Regions from separate parts of the Homo sapiens genome. Here all the other regions are linked to region 1. Evidence: promoter capture Hi-C in 16 types of primary human blood cells and fetal thymus (Javierre and others, 2016). All regions are on one chromosome and are shown on one strand. Each heading gives the region's core, a stretch centred on a gene start or on the middle of the fragment in contact. The rest is flanking DNA. Distances are from core to core; before and after follow the strand shown.

Region 1 (3,500 bases), core at 173-2,672:
TTTTGTGTGTGTGTGAAAAAGTTTTATTCAAGTTCACAACTGACAAGTAGTATAAACAGACTAATTTTCCCCAAATATCCTGTCTTTCACTAACTGGAAACAGAATCACAAAAGCAAATAGTGGAGTCTCATTAAAAATTATTGTAGAGAACTTTTACTTATTGCAAACACAACCTACGCCAGAAGAAATTTCAAAAGCGACTTAATGAAAATATAAACCAACACCTGATCTAACTGTGCTAATGAAATCTGTGAAAAAACAATGCCACCACGTTTCAACATTAGCCAGCACACCCAACATGAACATCTACTTTCCGTTGAAATAAACGTCAAAGGCTGTCAGCTGCTACACCTTCCAAGGCAAATTGGAAGCCAAATTCTTTCTAGAGTTTGGGGTTTTTATGAGTTGATACGGGTGCCAAATCAGGGAAAAAAGAAACAAAAGGAAGCAGGTAAGACCCCTTTTAGGAGTCCCTAAAAAATATCACTGCTGGCTGCTGCAACAAATGTTTTGAAGACCTAAGTTCACCACAAGCCTTATTTATTTCTGGTGGCGATGGTGGGGAAGGAGGAGAGTAAGCACAGAAAATTATTAAAAGGTAAGAGGACCTTAAAGTTCATCTAACTCAACGCCCTCCTAGGGTAAGGGTTCCCAGTACCCCAAAGGTTCTTTTTTCCAGGGCATGAGCTGCAATACAACCAAAAATAAGGGGTAGCGATGGCGAAGAAACGGGAGAAAGACGATCTTCTGATCAGGCCCGTCGACGGTTGCAGCGTTCCCCCAAGACGCCAAGAGCCCGCCAGTCCCTCCGCCCCTCTCTCCCCAAACCCCAGCCTCGGCTGAGGCGCGCACGCGCAGCAAGTAGGGGCTGCGCGTGGCGACGCGCAGGCGTAAAGTGGGTAGAAACAATAAGCTTTGTTGCCGAGGCGGTGGGAGGGGGGCAGGGGAAAGGGTACCCGGCGGAGGGATAAAGGACCGGGAGAATGAGGAACAGGAGAAAGTGCTATCCCGGCAACCCTCGCGCCACTGAGGACCCGGATAGAGAGCTGCGAGATCCAAATCATTAATAATGACAATGAAAAAAAAGCGACGGCCATGTCTCGGAGAAGACAGAGACGAAGTCGGCCCAAGCTCATCCCTCAGACTTGGTGGAAAGAGGCAATGAACAACGGAGGCCGCAATGGACTCGGTGGCCAACCACCCAGGGAACCCTTTAGGCCCCTCTGCCGTCGCCGACTTGCTGTCCCTCGACCTCCGCACCCCTGTCGCCACTCTGCCCGAGAGGACCCCTCACCCAATGCACAGCAGCGGGGACGGCAGCCAACGAATCCTGTCGGCCTCCGCGGATCTCCACAGGCAGCGCCGCTCCCCCGCTCGACGTGCGCTTCGCCCGCCGCCTCCCTTCTCCAGTCCAAACAAACACCCCAGCCCGGAAGTGACTTCACTTCCGTCGCCGCCAACCCCGCCCTCTTGTTCTGTCAGCTCTGCCCTCCGAAGCCACTAGAGAGCGCGCGCGAGAACGCGCGACCCCGAAGTCTGTCTCCAAGGCTGCACACGTGTGCACGCGCAGCAGCCTTTCCAGCGCGCCCCTACGGCCGGCTGCCGGGTGTAGCAGGAACGCTGTCGCACGTTCTCTCTGGAAGGCAGGAATGGGGGCGTACCACTGTTCCCACACCCGCCCATCTTCCGAGAATGATGATATGCAATGAGTGAGGCAGCTGGGGACTGAAGAGCACCCTGACAAGATACACAGGCGTGGACTTTCACAGACATCACACACCCCCCCAAAAACGTAATATTTAGGTAATGACATAGCACACACATACCCATACACACCCCAAGAATGATACACAATGTCACACAAACAGCGACATGCACCGAGTCACGTCAAGATCCTGACACAGAAAAATAATAAACTAAGGGAAATCACAGAGGCGTACTAAATGATATGCAAACATCCGCACTCAGACATGTGCAGGCACAAAAACACACTTTTTGAAGCTGGATGCAAACGCAAAATACAAATACATGTGCAACTTCTTTGTGGCTAAAGGAGGAAATGCCCTGTCCACACAGGATAGAAAAGTGTGACCTCCGGGTTCAAGAATTTTGTAGTCCGTGATCCTGGGTGCACTGGCCCCATAGTTATTCTTACCCATGCTTCCTTCCTGTCATCGTTGACAAGCCCCAAGATATATTTCTAGTGACACTAAGCAATGTAAAGAAGAGAGTATGTTTTTGTTTTTTTGTTTTGTTTTGTTTTTTTGAGGCGGAGTCTGGCTCTCTTGCCCAGGCTGGAGTGCAGTGGCGCCATCTCGGCTCACTGCAACCTCCGCCTCCCGGGTTCAAGAGATTCTCCTGCCACAGCCTCCCAAGTAGCTGGGACTACAGGCGCACGCCAGCACACCCGGCCAATTTTTGTACTTTTAGTAGAGATAGGGGTTTCACCGTGTTGGCCAGGATGGTCTCGATCTCCTGACCTCGTGATCCACCCGCCTCCGCCTCTCAAAGTGCTAGGATTACAGGTGTGAGCCACCGCACCCGGCCGAGAGTATGTGTTTTACAAATCTGGATGTTCAAATGTGTAGATACTATCTTTGAAAAAGGGACACAAACTAATTTCTTCCCTTTGGAGAGGGCAAATGACCGACTAGGAAATGGGTGCAAATAACTATCCTTTTCTCCTGAAAAATTTGAATCTTTTAAAAACTATATGCTTGTAGTATTTACTAAGACAAAAAATTCCCTCCATGGGAAGGCTTGAATTTAGAAACCGGGTTGTTCCTCTTCAGAGCTATTTCATTCACTGAATACTCTTCTGGGCCAGTCCAAAGCCCCAAAGAAATGAATGCAGATGGTTCTGCCCTAGCTCCTGGGTCAACCACCTTGGCAGCACTTACAGATCTATATTCTAAACTGTGAAGATAAGCTATCAATCTGAGGCTGAAGGAAGTCTGAACATAACAAAATAGGTATTTATATAGTCTGAGATGACTCAGACTCTCTTTTTAAGACACAGTCTTCCATCACCCAGGCTGGAGTGCAGTGGCATGATCACGGTTCACTACAGCCGCAACCTCCCTGGCTCAAGCAATCCTCAAACCTCAGCTTGCAAAGTAGCTGAGACCACAGGTGTGTACCACCATGCCTGGCTAATTTTTGAATTTTTTGTAGAAATGAGGTTTTGCCATATTGCCCAGGCTGGTCTTGAACTCCTGGGCTCAAATGATCTGCCCGCTTCAGCTTCCCAAGGTGCTGGGATTACAGCCGTGAGCCACAGGGCCTGGCCTAACCCAGACTCTCTTAAAAGGTAAGCATGAGGCCAGGTGCGGTGGCTCACACCTGTAATCCCAGCACTTTGGGAGGCTGAGGCGGGCAGATCATGAGGTCAGGAGTTTGAGACCAGCCTGGCCAACATGGTGAAACCCTATCTCTAATAAAAATACAAAAATTAGCCGGATGTGGTGGCACATGCCTGTAGTCTCAGCTACCCGCGAGG
Region 2 (3,440 bases), core at 406-2,905, 750 kb after region 1:
GATTGCACCACTGCACTCCAGCCTGGGCGACAGAGTGAGACTCCATCTCAAAAAACAAAAAAAAGTATTATAGGTGTAGACAGTGCTGTGGAAGATAATATGCAGGACTGGCCTAGGCCTTAGGAATCTAATCTATTCTGGGGGCTGGAGAAGCTTGCCTATACAAGTGACATTTATGTTGGGACCTGAAGGCTAAATAGGGTTAGACAACTGGCTGGTGGGGAGAAAGTGATCTAGGGAGAAGTGAGGGCCTATGGAAGTGCAGAAGCAACACTTCAAGGACCCGAAAGAAGGCCCGTGTTGCTGCAGTGAATCTATCAAGGAAGGGTTGCCGATATAAGGAGGTTGAAGGGACCAGCAGGAAGCTGGGAGATTTTTTTCTTTTTTAAGAGAATGGATCTCACTATGTCACCCAGGCTGGAGTGTGGTGGCTATTCACAGGCACACCATCATTGCACACTACAGCCTTGAACTCCTGGGCTCCAGTGATCCTCTTCTCAGCACTACAGGTGTGCACCACCACACCCAACTCTGGGTTTTTTTTTGTTTTTTTTTTTTTGAGACAGAGTTTCACTCTTGTCACCCAGGCTGGAGTGCAATGGCACCATCTCGGCTCACTGCAACCTCCGCCTCCCAGGTTTAAGCGATTCTCCTACCTCAGCCTCCCACGTAGCTGAGATTACAGGCGAGTGCCACCGCGCCCGGCTAATTTTTGTATTTTTAGTAGAGATGGGGTTTTACCATGTTGGCCAGGCTCGAACTCCTGACCTCAGGTGATCTGCCCTCCTCAGCCTCCTGAAGTGCTGGGATTACAGGCATGAGCCACCGCTCCCGGCCTTTGGGGGATTTTAAATGTTGATTAAGAACAAGCAAGTGGGCCAGGAGCAGTGGCTCATGCCTGTAATCTCAGCACTTTGGGAGGCTGAGGTGGGCAGAACACCTGAGGTCAGGAATTCGAGACCAGCCTGGCCAACATGGCGAAACCCTGTCTCTACTAAAAATACAAAAATTAGATGGGCGTGGTGGCCAGCTCCTGTAGTCCCAGCTACTCTGGAGGCTGAGACAGGAGAATTGCTTGAACCCGGGAAGCAGAGGTTGCAGCAAGCCAAGATCGCACCACTGCACTCCAGCATGGGCCACAGAGTGAGACTCCGTCTCCAAAAAAAACCAAGCAAGTGGAAAGTATAGAATCAAAGACTTGCAGGATGGGCAGTCACAGGATTTAAAGGTCATCTAGTCCCACCACCCAGATGATACTGGTATCTCCTCTGCTCATTTTTTATCACCAGATGAATCCAAATGGAGGCCAGAGAGGGGCTGGCATGAGGTCACAGCAGGCTGAGGTAAGGGAGTATCCATGAAGCCCCGAAGGCTGAGGCAGGAGGGTTCCGGGTTCCATTTCTCTGACCCAAGTATGAGTTGGAGCTGGTCTCTGGTCAAACTGCCTATTTGTGTGAGGACACTCATAGGACCAGCCAAGGAAAAGCAGATAACAACCATTCGTGTTTATTAACCATAGCACATTGGAAGGCTAATTGCTCTGAGCAGGTGTCGGGGAGGTTGATTTGTTCAAGAGGGCCTGGCTAGTTTGTATTCGTGACAGAGAAATCTATTGTTGAGAGCCGGGCAAGACAGCCTGTGAAGAAGCCAAAGAAGGGCAAAGCCAGCCTGACCAGCACCCAGAGGAGCTCTGGCCCATGGACTCGATCAAGGAAATTTGTTCATCATTATCAGGGCAAATGCTTCCTCCTGTGCTGGCAGCAGGACAAACAGGCTACTCCTTGGTGATACAAACCAGTGAAATATTCATGATTATATGACAATAATGAACCTGGCCCCTTCTTCCCTTCATCTTCCTGATTCTCACTGTGTGGCAGGGCTGTGTGTGCTCACAAACAGTCCTGTGTCCTCGTCATTATCATAATTAATCAATATTTAATAAGTGCCCCCCACACTATGAAAAGCCCTGTGGTGACTCAGGATACAAGAAAGTGGTAGTCTCTGCCCCGAGAAGGTTCACAAATCTAAATGAGGAAAGTAGAAACATGCACCAAAAGGTAAACCATAACCAATACATGGCTGCAGTGACATGGGTTTGGGATTTAAAAGGCCATCAAAAGGCCAGGTGCAGTGGCCCACACCTATAATCCCAGCACTTTGGCAGGCCAAGGCAGGAGGATCACTTGAGCCCAGGAGTTGGAGACCAGCCTGGGTGACAGACAGAGTGAGTCCCTGTCTCTACAAAAAAAAAAAAAAAAAAGAATTTTCTGAGACAGGGCCTCACTCTGTCGCCAAGGCTGGAGTGTAGTGGTGCAATCTCTGCTCACTGCAGCCTCCGCCTCCCAGGTTCAAGCGATTCCCCTGCCTCAGCCTCCCAAGTAGCTGGCACTACAGGCATGGCGCTGTCACATCCAGCTTTTTTTTTTTTTTTTTTTTTTTGTATTTTTAGTAGAGACGGGGTTTCGCCATGTTGGCCAGGCTGGTCTCAAACTCCTGGCCTCAAGTGATCTGCCTGCCTCCGCCTCCCAAAGTGCTGGGATTACAGGTGTGAACCACCGCACCCAGCCTACAAAAAGTTTTTTTAATTAGCCAACCATTGTAGTACATGCCTGTAATCCTAACTACTTGGCAGGCTGAGGCAGGGGGATCACCTGAGCCCAGGAGGTTAAGGCTGCAGTGAACTGTGATCATGCTACCGCACTCCAGCCTGGGTGATAGAGTGAGACACTGTCTCTCAAAAATAAATAAAAATAAAAGTAAAAAATAAAAAGACCATCAAAGACCACTGTAGAAGAACAAGACAGAGCCTAGAACTTAAGGAAATTGGCCTCAGAGCAGCATGATGCAGGAAGGTACTTCAAGCAGACTAGAAAGAGATGCTTTGGGGTCAGGAATGAGAATGTTTGTAGGTCCTGGAACAAGGGAACCCAGGCCTTGATCCCTGGCATGACAGCACCTAAGAAGGGAGCAAGACCCTAGAGAGGCCTGGCCTCATGGTATATCTAGGAGATAGGACCCCAGGCCAGAGGATGAGGCAAGGATGAAGAGCAGGCTGTCAGTACCTGGGCCTCAAGTGATGGTACAAATGATGGGACAACTCAAAGCTCCCTCCAATCTCATCCAAAATATAAGATCTTGGAACCATAACGCAAGCTTGAAGACAAGAAATAAGCTAGATTAACTTTCCCAACAGTCAGATGGGATCAGAGCATGTAATTGGAGTTTACCTTTATTTAAGAATATAAATAAATGTGATACTTCCTACACACATGAATTTATAAACTGAGAGTCATACCTGCTGCAGTTGCTACAGTTCAAGTGTGAAAGGATGAGAACTAGATTAGAATGATTTCAGCGAAAAGACAAAGACATAAAAGTCCTAGTGATATACAGGAATAAAGAACAGAACTAGATTTGCCCAGAATCTACAGCAAATCCCA
Region 3 (3,926 bases), core at 148-2,647, 900 kb after region 1:
GGGCTCAGGGGAGGGCCCCGCTGGTGATCCAAGTACAGAATGCAGACAAGACACAGGCCGGGAAAGAAGAGGACCGATGCCCTTTGGGGCTTGCCCAGGCAAGAGAGAAGCAGCCACCCTGAAGGCCACATGGAGGCGTGAGGCCCCTCCATTCCCCCTGGGATGGGTGGGGGAAGAGAAGGAGTCTAGAGTAAACCAGGACAGAAGCACTTGGCCGGCCCGGCTGTACCGAATGGGAAGAAGGGAGCAGGGTGGGGCTGCCGGTGTCAGTCCCCAACGGTGGAGGCCGAGGGGCAGTGTCCTCATTAGGGCAGGGGATAGCTCCGAGAACCACGAGGAGCCCCTGTCAGGCTCAGCCCCTTGACAATGTGTGGCTGTCGCCTGTTTCCACATGGACAGGAGGGATACTTCCAAACCGGCTGGTGCAAGTGGAGTGCGGAGCAGAATCCTCAAGGACAAAGTCTGGGCTCGTGGGGAATGGTGTGTGTTCCCTCCTGGGGCCCGGGGAGGTGCCAGAGACACAGCTCCACAGTGTGGCTGGCAGCCTGGAATGAAGGCCACGGAGCGTCCTCCCCCAGCGGGGTCCACAATCCCAGGCTGAGCACACACATCCCCTCTCCCAGTTACCTCTCACACTTTGTCCTCCGAGCATTTCTGCTTCCCGATACCCAGACTTCCTCCCTAGGGGGCCTAAGGGCATATGCCCTCGTCCCCAGTCTCCTGACAGTGAGTGGAAGGGAGAGACCAAGGGGCCTGGTGATGGCTCTGAGCTGCGGAATGATGATGAGGCCCTGCCTTGCTCCACTCTCTTCCATCACCCTGTTACCTCCCCCAGAGGGACAGGGCCCGGGTCTGAGGATCTCCTCCAGCCCAGACCTGCTAGGTGGGGGAGGGGACGCGCCTGCCTCCCCTTTTAAATCAAGCCGTGCTGCTCAGCCTCTAGGATGGGCGCAGGAGCAAGGACGGTAGAAATAAAAGAGGTTATTAATAAAGAATGTGGGTGAGGTCCCTGGGAAGCCAGGCCTGCCACGCTCCCCTAATATTCCCCCCTCCAGTCCTGGGTGCCACATCTCCATGTCTCTGGGGGCCCCAAATAAGGACGCAGCGCCTTTAGGTGACTCTGCTGCACGAAGCTTCGGAGAAGTCCACCCGGGCTTTAACACCCCCGCCCTCCATCACAGCCCGCATCACCCCCCGCCGCCGCCGCACTCACACCACCAGGCGAGAGATGATCCAGGACACCATGGCGGGGCCGGGCGCGGCGCGGGGCGGGGACCCGGCCCGGCCGAGGATGCAGCTGCCTGAGGCCGAGCGGCGGCGGCGGCGGCAGCAGGAGCCGCAGTAGCAGCAGCAGCCGCTGCAGCAGCCGCCGCGGGGGCAGCGGAGCGCCCAGCGCCGCCGTTAAAGGGGAGGTCCCTGCCGCAGCGGCGGGCCGTGGGCGGTGGCGGCTCTTAAAGGGGAGGCCGGGAGGCCGCCGCGGCGGCGGCGGCGCGCCCCCGCCCCGGCACCTGCTGTGGCCGGGCATGCGCCTCCGACCCTCAGTGCCCTGCCTTCCTCGAATCGCTTGTTCATCTTTCTTGGGTTTCAAGCCCTAGGCTGTTGTCGTGGAGGTCTCCATGGTTACATCCTGAAATCGACCCCTGCCCACCTCCTGCCCTGCCCACACCAGGCGCTTACTGTGTGCCAGCCCCTGTGCTAAGAGCTTCACTGCGTTGCCAGTGAATCCTCTTGACCACCCTATAAGGCAGGCGCTATAAAAGCCCTCATTTTGAAGATAAGGGAATGAGAAGCTTAAGGCTCAATAATCTGTTGAGAGTCACAAAGCCACCAAGTCATGCTGCTAAGATGACCCCAGGAAGCCTACTTTAAACAGGTTACATCCCCCAACTGCTGACTAGCAAACTCTCCTCATTACAGGCCCTGAAGACATCCACCTGAGCTCCTGAGTCACAGGTACAGCCGCACCTGTCCACCCCACTCCTTCTCACCCCGTTGAAAGAGGATCTCCCCTGACCAGATGATGTTTTGTTTTTTTGAGACAGGTCCTCACTCTGTCGCTCAGGCTGGAGTGCAGTGGCACAATCTCAGCACACCTCCTGGGCTTGAATGATCCTCCCGCCTCAGCCTCCCGAGTAGCTGGGACTACAGGCCCAAAACACCACCAGCTAATTCCTGTTTTTTTGTTTTTTGTTTTTTTTTGCCAAGATGGGGTTTTGCAATATTGCCCAGGCTGATCTCCAACTCCTGAGCTCAAGCGATCCACCCGCCTCAGCCTCCCAAAGTGCTGGGATCACTGGTGTGAGCCACCGGGCTGCTGGTCTGCTTTTTTAGGTTGTCAGCTCCTAAGCTTTGCAGCGGAACAGAGCTTTATGCTCTCAATGTGGTTACTGACAACAAAGGGTCAACCTTCTTTTCAAACAGAGGGGCTGCGAGAGGGTCCTGGGGCTCCAGTTCCACCCCCATCAGCAAGCACTAGTGGCAGTGAATGTCCTGATTCTAAAGACATTTATATCCAGAATGTAGGCTAGCCTGCCTCCTGATCTTCAGGAAAGCAACCAACCTCCAACCATCCACCAACACCCCCAGCCCTATTGCTCTCCTTTCCTGTCCCATTTTAGAGCTTCTGCATTCCTCTACCCTTTATGTTGAGTTGTAATCCTTCGGGTGACCACAGCATCAACCTGTGCCCATCTGGGCTGAAAGGACACATTCAGAACTGTGTATTTCAAAGAGTCATGGTCTTATTCAAGCTCAGTATCCCTGAACAACACAATGGTCTATTTCTAACCTGGTAAATTATATTTCCAGGTTCAAACACTTTGGAAGATGTTTCCCAAAACGTTCCAGAAAAGCAGCCTCTGATAACCCCTCTTGCTATTCTTTACAACTTCCTCTCCAGAAAACATCTCCTAATTGGAATGCAGTCTGTTATCACCCCACAATGAAACACTTTAATTACTGCTTGATAAATCCCACATGAGTGTCTCCCACCATCTCTAAGGTGGATCTATGGCCACACGTTTCATGTAGGCAGCCAGGCTGCCTGCTTAAGAATCCCACCACAGACTGTCCAACTTTGCTGAGGCCACACACCATGACCCTTCCCCCCAGACTCTGCCACAGGAAGGGAGGACCCCAACTTTCCCACTCCATTCACAAAGCATAAAGTATGGGGAAACATGTCTCTCTTTCTACCCTCTAATTCATGTGGCCCCTTCCCCTTACCCCCAATTCCCCAAACCATACTGACCTCACCCTGGCACTTTCCTTTTTTCTAACATGGCACAGTCTCAACAAGCAAAGAAAAATATCTGGGTGTAGCACAGTCATGAAGACCTGGAAATGAATCCCCCACCTCCAACCCAACTCCCAATCTGATGTTGATTTTAGAAGGGTTGGTACACGAATAATTTAGTCCACTCCAAACAGATTTGTTAGATTTTTAATAAGAACATGGAAATCCCAATCAGCCCTTCAACAAAATTAAAATACAGAAAGTGAAATTAAAAGTATTCTACATTAAATGACTTTTATTTAAAAAAAAAAAAAAAAGTAACTGTGAACATATAAACAGCCTGCAGGGCACTACAGTACAGCTGGAGAGATATACATTTTCCAATGTACCTATGGGCCAATGAATCCCACCATTTTCAAATAAATCCTTAATCAGACTCCACTCAGTTGGAAAGTTTTGCTGAAAATATTTCTGGATAAAAAACAAAAAACCTCATGTTGGAAATCAACTGTCCTTCCCATTTGGAAACATTAAGAGGAGTCCCCAGGGAACACTGGTAATAGGTGAAAATGGTTCCTGGAGTCACCAGTGTTGTACACACACATGGGGAACACACCACAGCTTAGATGTGACAAAGTTCCTTCTCATATGACTGTTCCCTCAAGGTAAGACTAAGATGGGAGGGGGAGAA
Region 4 (3,786 bases), core at 1,161-3,660, 810 kb after region 1:
AGAGAATTGCTTGAACCCGGGAGGCGGAGGTTGCAGTGAGTCGAAATGGCGCCACTGTACTCCAGCCTGGGTTACAGAGTGAGACTCCGTCTCAAAAAAAAAAAAAGAAGCTTATATACACTTACTGTAAACAATGTGTTTCATTGTTTGATACTTGGTGGAAGAGAAAAGAGAAGTTGAGTATCAGGTCCCTGTGAAGACTGGCCATAGGTTATATCAGAATACTGAACTCATGCCACACAAGTTTTAGAAAGGAATGAATTTCTATGGTTCTCCCTTATGATAAATTACAGAGTTTCCAGTGTTCTGGCCATATTATTTTTGGTATAGCTCTTTTGTTCTGTGGAAGATTTGGCAAGTCCTGTAATCCCGTAAAGGTGACCATCATCTGCTACAAAAAATCAGCTCATACTTCAGGACCTAACAGGATTCAAATAAGACTTCAACCCCATCTGATATTACCTCTCTCCCCTCCCCATTTCTAGTTGGGCTGTGCTACTTCTTTCCAACTGGTACTACTGGTGGAGGGGAGGCGATAGTCAAGAACTAGAGCTCCATCTCATTACCATTTAGTGATCAGTTACTATCTGCTCTCCAAGCTAGGCACTTGACATATATGATCTCGTAGAATCCTCATGATCTTGTGAAGTAAGTAGAAACAGACCCACAGGGATTTGTGTGGTTTGCCTTCGGTCACACGGCCATTAAGTGATAGAGCTGGACGTGAGCCTGAATCTGGGCTCCTCCTATTCTGTTCCCATATTAACCCCATATCAAAAAGACCATCTTAGTTTAAAAGTTTAAACTTAGTTTTGCAAATTTGGGAGAAGAAAAATGGAAAACACACAGTGAATAAAACAATGACAGTTTTGGAAATGGAGTAGAAATTGAAGAGGAACTGATTGATTTTCAGGTGGTGATCCATGTAATACTGCTGGCTTAGTGACTTTCCCAGAAATGATCTGGCTGAGATTTATTTATTTATTTATTTTATTTTATTTTTTTGAGGCGGAGTCTCGCTCTGTCGCCCAAGTTGGAGTGCAGTGGCTCGATCTCGGCTCACTGCAAGCTCCGCCTCCCGGTTCACACCATTCTCCTGCCTCAGCCTCCCAGGTAGCTGGGACTATAGGCGCCCGCCACCACGCCCGGCTAATTTTTTTGCATTTTTAGTAGAGATGGGGTTTCACCCTGTTAGCCAGGGTGATCTCAATCTCCTGACCTCGTGATCCGCCCACCTTGGCCTCCCAAAGTGCTGGGATTACAGGTGTGAACCACTGCACCTGGCCTCTGGCTGAGATTTAAATTGAGCTTTGTGAGGCAGGCACAGATGGGAGCTTGAAAAGGGAAGTGGTGAAAAATTTGGCCATCCATAGCCTAGGCACAACCCAGCCATCAAACCCTGGGATGAAAGCTTCTTGGGGAGCATGTACTGTACATCCCGGTTAGGGAGTATAGTAAGCAGTGTCTAAAACGTTCCTGGTCCTAACCTGAAAGTAGTTAACGTGATTTACAAGTGATGACTTGGATGGCAGAGTACTTGAGGGGGAGTGAGTGTTCGGGCTGGTAAAGTTGAGTATCTCTGAGCTGTCACAATTCATTATGGTTGTATTATAGCTAGGTTGTCTTAGGTTTTGGGGGTTTTTTGATTTTTGTTTTTGTGCTGCTATAACAGAATACCACAGATTGGTGTTCTGGTAAGGGCCTGCTCTCTGCTTTTAAGATGGCACCTTGAACGCTGCATCCTTTGTTGGGGAGGAACACTGTTCCTCTCATGGCAAGAGAACAAAAGAGAGATGGCCCACTACTTATAAGCACCTTATTTTATCTTTTTTGTGTGCGCGTGTGACTGTAGCTCTCAGGTCTTATAAGCACCTTATTTTAAATAGCAGCATGAATCTATTCATGAGGGCAGAGCCCTCATAACCTAAACACATTCCATATGCCCCACCTTTCAATACTATTGCAGTGGGGATTAAGTTTCCAACACATGAATTTGGGGGGACACCTTCAAACCATAGCATAGGGTAAATGCAGCAAGCAACTGCTCTGGGTTCTTCTTCTTTGGGTGGAGGTGAGGTTGTGGAGGCTTGTTACCTTCAGCAGACCTAGAGATGACCCTGTGAAGAAAGCAAGCCAGATGCAGTGATTCTCAACCCTAGTTCTGCATTAGAATCTTGCGTATTTGAGGCCGGGCACAGTCGCTCACACCTGTAATCCCAATTCTTTGGGAGGCCAAGGCAGACAGATCACTTGAGGTCAGGAGTTCGAGACCAGCCTGGCCAACATGGTGAAACCCTGCCTCTACTAAAAATAGCCAGGCATTGTGGCGCGTGCCTGTAACCCTAGCTACTTGGGAGGCTGAGGCAGGAGAATTGCTTGAACTGGGGAGGCAGAGGTTGCAAAGATCAGAGATGGCGCCACTGCACTCCAGCCTAGGAGACAAGAGTGAGACTCTGTCTCAAAGAAAAGAATCAGCTGGGTGCGGTGGCTAAAGCCTGTAATCCCAACACTTTGGGAGACTGAGGTGGGTGGATAATTTGAGATCAGGGGTTCGAGACCAGCCTGGCCAACATGGCAAAACCCCATCACTACTAAAAATACAACAATTAGCTGGGCGTGGTAGTGGGCGCCTGTATCCCAGCTACTTGGGAGGCTGAGGCAGAAGAATCACTTGAATCCAGCAGGCAGAAGCTGCAGTGAGCCGAGATCACACCACTGCACTGTAGCCTGGGTGGCAGAGCGAGACTCTGTCTCAGAGAAAAAAAAAATCTTTCATATTTCAAAATTGAGACTGTCTCAACCAAAATCATCACCACCCTCACTCTCCCTATTCAGAAACTATTGAGTCAGGATGGAGGAAGAAGGGATCTTTTGTGTCTGAGCATGTATTCTTTTATTTTGCTTCTTTAGAAAGCTCTAAAAGGATTCAGGGCTGGGAGGTATGCAAACTGAAGTGTTCTTGAGCATTGTTGATGATGGTGAACATTGATTAAGATCCTTGTGGGTCAGGCGGGCACGGTCGCTTGCGCCTATAACCTTAGCTGCTCAGTGAGTCTGAGGTGGGAGGAGTGTTTGGGCCCAAGAGTTCGTGACCAGCCTGGGCAGCCTTGTGAGATCCTATCTCGAAAATAAAAAGAAAAATTAGCTGAGCGTGGTGGTGCGTACCTGTAGTCCCAGGCTAGGGTGGGAGGATCACTTGAACCCAGGAGTTTCCAGGTTACAGTGAGCTGTGATTGTGCCACTGCACTCCAGTCTGGGTGACAGAGCAAGACCCCATCTCTAAAAAAATTATCTTTCTACTTGAGTTTTGTTTGGGATTTATTTGGTTTAGTTCTGTTACAATTCCTTTTTTTCACCTGTTTGATTTTTCAGACGTTAACCCTCTGGGCGAAGCATTGATGAAAGCTTTGATAAGCCAAAGTGCCCCTAAAACCAATGAGAACAAGAAGAGAATCTGAGTGCAGAGGCCCCTGGGAGCTTTGAGGGATACATTGCTGTATGTTGTCTCTTGTTTTGCCCAGTTTTTACAACCTGCATGTGACACATTGCTGTACCCCATGATTCACTAGTTCTTTGATTTCGGAAGAGGAGTATAGGGATAGTAGAAAAACGAAGGAAAACTATTACAGTTAAAGAAGGTTGTAGTTTGCCTGTGTAGCCAGCATCTCCTTAGTGAGAGCTTTATTTTTCATTTTCCCCTGAAGGGTGTTCACTTTAAAAGACATGGAAGTATTCAGCTTCCTTAATTTTATTTTGGGTGTTTACACAAACTGGTCTAACAACTTT
Region 5 (3,992 bases), core at 1,123-3,622, 880 kb after region 1:
TGGGTATGAGGTGGTGGCCGGGGATGGATAAGAGGTAGTAACCGGGGACGGGTAAGAGGTAGCAACCGGGGACGGGTAGGAAGAGAGAGAGGAGGTGGCCGAAGAGGCCACAACACTTTTGTCTGCTTTCTTGTCCTTCTGCCGCAAGTGGATCTTGGTATGCCTCTTGCGTTCATCGCTCCTGGCAAACTTTCTTCCACAGATGTCGCAGGCGAAGGGCTTTTCGCCTGTGTGGGTGCGGATGTGGGTGGTGAGGTGGTCGCTGCGGCTGAAGTTGCGCATGCAGATGCGGCACTGGAAGGGCTTCTGGCCTGTGTGGATGCGGATGTGGCGGGTGAGCTCGTCGGAGCGGGAGAAGCGGCGATCACAGGACTCCACTGGGCAAGCGTAAGGGCGTTCGTGGGGGGGCGTCTTGCTGGGCCGGTTGGGGTACTTGCGCATGCGGCTGGGTTTGATGAGCTGGGACTGGTAGCTGGTATTGAGGGCCTTCAGGTCCTGGGAGCCCGACTGAGTGGCAAAGGCCTTAATAGTAGACAGAGGGGTTAGCGAAGGCTGCTGGGTGCGGCTCTCCAGGCCCTGGAAGGGCTTCTGGTCTGGGGTGCCCAGGCCCAGATCCCCCTGCTGCTGTGGAAACAGGTAGTCGGGGATCATGGGAACCTGGAAGCCACCCTTGGCGGCAGGGTAGGCAGGAGGCGGGTACTGGAGCGCTGTCCCTGCCGAGCCCGGGAAGGCCTGGCTTTGTGGCTCAGGGAAAATGTCAGTGTTCGGCGTGGGGAAGGTGGGTGCCGCTGAGTAAATGGGACTGCTGTCGTTGGATGGCACTGCGCAGCTCAGGGGTGGGCTCTGGGAGGCGGAGGCGGAGGAGGCCGCTGGAGATGGTGCTGAGGACGAGGAGGCCGGTGGGTTGGTCATGCTCACTAGGCCACTGACCAAGCTGAAGAGGGGCTCGGGCCACAAGGTGTTGCCACTGTTGGGTGCAGGCTCCAGGGAAAAGCGGCCAGTATAGGTGATGGGGGGCAGTCGAGTGGTTTGGCTGGGGTAACTGGTCTCCACCAGCACCTTCTCGTTGTTCAGAGAGATGTCAGGAAAAGACTCTGGCAGGAGAGAGAGAAGCGGGAGGCCTGGTTACTGGAAAGCAATCACTGGAGGACGAGGACGACCCGAGCTGCCAGGCAAGAGACCGGGCCGGCTACCATTGACTCCCGAGGTAGTTAATAATTGATAGCAGCACATTGCAATGTTCCTGGACCCGCACCAGTGGCAGAGCCCATTTCAACAACAGCTGACGCAAATACGGAGAATCCCCCTCCACTGCAGCTCGCAGCGCTCCGCAGCGGCGGCTGTGCGGGCGAGGGATTCCCGCCAGCACCCCCATGGCCGCGGCTAGTGCGCGCCCCCAAACCCGGGCTGCCGGGACATCCACGGCCAAGGATCACGGTCCTTCCTTGGGGACAGGCGGCAAGCAAGGCAAGGCAAGTCTTACTGGAGGTGGGGGGCGCAGCCCCGCTCATCAAAACAAGCCCTCCCCCTCCACCCACCCACGCAGCTCCAGAGCTCTCCATCCAAAACAAAAGCTCGGTCCTCTGCGCTCCGCTAGGGATGAGGGCAGGGGGTGGGCTGTGTGGGGTTCCTTGGCATCCCTCTAACACATGACTCTGGGGATGCGAGGAATGAAAGGGAAACCCGGCTCTCATTCTAAGATCCAGGAGCACTCCTGCGGTGAAGGACAGGACGCCAGGATGGTGGCGAAAGGGTTCCCCCTCGGCGTAGGCCACTGCTTACCTGCGGTCAGGTGCTCGTAGGGCTGCTCGCCCGTGTCCGCCTGAGGGTTGAAGGTGCTGCTGCTGCTGCTGCTGTTGCTGCCGCCCCCGCCGCCTCCACCGCCCCCGCTGCTGCTGCTGCTGCTGTTGCTGCCGCTGCCCTCTGGGGCCCCGGCGGCGCCGAGGAACTGGGGAGCCCCGTTGCTCAGCAGCATCATCTCCTCCAGCTTAGGGTAGTTGTCCATGGTGGGCGAGTGAGGAAAGGATCCGAACGGGTCAGAGATCTGCAGCGGGGACATCAGCTGCATCTCGGCCTTGGCCGCGGCCATCCTGGACGAGCAGGCTGGAGAGCTGGTGTCGGGGCGGGGGGGTGCAGCCCGGGGCTGGAGCTGCAGGGGACACAGTTGCGGGGGCCTGGCCGGGTTACATGCGGGGCGCGGGGAACACTGAGAAGCGTGCAGGCGGCGACCCCGACTCGCCCTGGGCGCGGGCGGGCGTGGACGCGCCGCGGCTGCGGAGGCTGGGGCAGGGGCCGGTCCTGCGGCGGCGGAAGCTGGCTGCGGCGGCGGATGGCGGCGGCGGCTCCCCAAGTTCTGCGCGCTGGGATCTCTCGCGACTCCCCGGATCCGCCTCTATTTGAAGGGTCTGGAACGGCACGGGTCCGCCTCCGTCGTGACGTACATGGCCATATATGGGAAGCAGGAAGCCCTAATATGGCAGGACCGGCCGGGAGGACCCGGAGTGACGTGAAGCCCCCCATCCGACAGCGCCCGGCACCTCCATCCTGCACCCTAGGGCCCGCGCCCGCGCCCGCATCCCAGGCGCCCAGGCTTCGGGGAAGCCTAGAGCTCTAGCCGCCGCCGGGGCCTCCGGGACCCGCGCAGCTCCGGAGTTCCCGCGTTGCCCCTCCCTCCGCCTTCTTCCCTCCTCCCAGAGCCGGAAGCGGCCGGGCCATATCGGGCCACTCCAAATAAGGTGCTGCCCAAATAAGGGTTGTTCCGGCGGGGGATCCTTCCTGCTCCTTATATGGCATTTCCGGGTCGCAGCTGGTTGCTCCCTCGCTCCCTCCCTCCTCCCTGGTTCCAAGCCGGGAGCCCGAGCGCTCGCGGGATCCGGGGACGCCCAGGCGGGGAGGGCTCGTGGCGTGTGGCGCTGGGCGCGCGGCTGCTCAGGCGGCTCCTAGGCGTGAACTAGGCTGGGGAAGCCCAGACCCAGAGCGGGGGCGAGGGCGAGTCGGGCCGGGGTTCTATCGCTGTCATCCAGGGCCCGCCCGCCCACCTCAGGGACCGTGAGAGCGAACCGGGAGTGCGGGGGAGGAGCGGCTGGGCCCGCCTGGGCAGGGGCCGCCCAGGAGAGGCGGGGCCTTGACCCCGGGCCTCGATCTATGGCACGGTGTCTTTCCGGGTGTCGCTGGGAAATTGAGGATAGGAAGTCACGGCCACTTGGTTCTTGGGACACTGTATAGCAGTGAGCTGCCTTGCCTCTGCCACCTGTCGGTGGGATGGGGCTGCTGGTGCCTGGGGTCCCCTGTGCTCCCCCGGAACCGAAAGGCTGTTCCCTAGTCCCCGCCGGCAAAGAGCCCACCTTTGGGGGACCGAAGTGGGGAAGCTGATTGCCCCAAGAGAGGCCTGATTCTTGTTCTCACCAGGAGATAATGGTCCTTGTGGTGAGGGGTCACTTTCCCCCCTTTATCCAGTCCAGGTGGAGGGCCGGCCCACACTGCGGGAATCCGAAAGAGGGGCTTCCCTATGGGCTGTCTGGGGACCCCGGGCTGGGCGCGAAGAGAGGACCGGCTTGGCGGCTCGGTGCTGCCCCCTGGAGGTTCCCTCTCCACTCCCAGCCCCGGACTCCGGCCGCGCGGGCTCTTCCGCCGCCTCCTCGCTCCTCCTCCCGGATGCGGCGCTGGGCGCGGAGCCAGGCCGGGGGAGCCTTCGACGCAGTGAGCACGAACTGAGCAGGCGCTGCAGCCCGGGCTCCCCCTGCAGTCCCTGGGGAGCCGTCACTGCCGAGGCGCCCAGACTCCGGGATAACACTCCTCACCCCGAGCCTGGCCAAGGCGAGGGGGAGAAGGAAGCAGGGGGTGGGTGGTGGCGAGGGAGAACGATTCCCGCAGGTCTCCCTGGGGCCGAACGCGAACAGGGAAGCCCTCCCCGCCCCCACGACGCAGTCAGTTGCTCACCCCAAAGGGAACAGGGATTCCGGGAAGGGAAGGCTCCTCCTGCTCTAGCTCTG

The links. The method cuts DNA at HindIII sites, captures the fragments that hold promoters and counts their contacts. A CHiCAGO score of 5 or more calls a contact.
Region 2: a contact is called between a fragment that was not itself captured here and the fragment with the promoter of PAIP2 in region 1, in 1 of 17 cell types (erythroblasts). The highest score is 5.5, in erythroblasts.
Region 3: the fragment with the promoter of REEP2 here is called in contact with the fragment with the promoter of PAIP2 in region 1 in 1 of 17 cell types (fetal thymus); the score reaches 6.4 in fetal thymus.
Region 4: a fragment that was not itself captured here is called in contact with the fragment with the promoter of PAIP2 in region 1 in 1 of 17 cell types (monocytes); the score reaches 8.4 in monocytes.
Region 5: the fragment with the promoter of EGR1 here is called in contact with the fragment with the promoter of PAIP2 in region 1 in 3 of 17 cell types (monocytes, fetal thymus and erythroblasts); the score reaches 10.3 in monocytes.

The regions. Positions count from the first base shown.
Region 1 is chr5:139,339,776-139,343,275 of GRCh38, reverse strand. PAIP2 (poly(A) binding protein interacting protein 2) reads right to left here and starts at 1,422. Exons shown (of 4, transcript NM_016480.5): 1 at 1,296-1,422. The HindIII fragment of the contact is 3,993 bases long and covers 917-3,500 here.
Region 2 is chr5:138,588,671-138,592,110 of GRCh38, reverse strand. No RefSeq gene overlaps it. Among named protein-coding and RNA genes, the nearest start is that of HSPA9, 15 kb to the right of the region's middle. The HindIII fragment of the contact is 3,000 bases long and covers 156-3,155 here.
Region 3 is chr5:138,436,528-138,440,453 of GRCh38, reverse strand. REEP2 (receptor accessory protein 2) reads right to left here and starts at 1,397. Exons shown (of 8, transcript NM_001271803.2): 1 at 1,214-1,397. The coding sequence starts at 1,245. KDM3B (lysine demethylase 3B) reads right to left here. Exons shown (of 24, transcript NM_016604.4): 24 at 3,427-3,926. RefSeq lists an enhancer at 231-764 and a silencer at 1,150-1,569. The HindIII fragment of the contact is 657 bases long and covers 1,136-1,792 here.
Region 4 is chr5:138,529,265-138,533,050 of GRCh38, reverse strand. The region is part of intron 2 of ETF1 (eukaryotic translation termination factor 1); the gene reads left to right. Among named protein-coding and RNA genes, the nearest start is that of ETF1, 12 kb to the left of the region's middle. The HindIII fragment of the contact is 1,994 bases long and covers 1,414-3,407 here.
Region 5 is chr5:138,463,859-138,467,850 of GRCh38, reverse strand. EGR1 (early growth response 1) reads right to left here and starts at 2,372. Exons shown (of 2, transcript NM_001964.3): 1 at 1,783-2,372; 2 at 1-1,094. The coding sequence starts at 2,089. RefSeq lists silencers at 2,119-2,328, 2,419-2,768, 2,779-3,178, 3,499-3,768 and enhancers at 1,634-2,473, 2,474-3,314, 2,387-3,586. The HindIII fragment of the contact is 6,642 bases long and covers 1-3,992 here.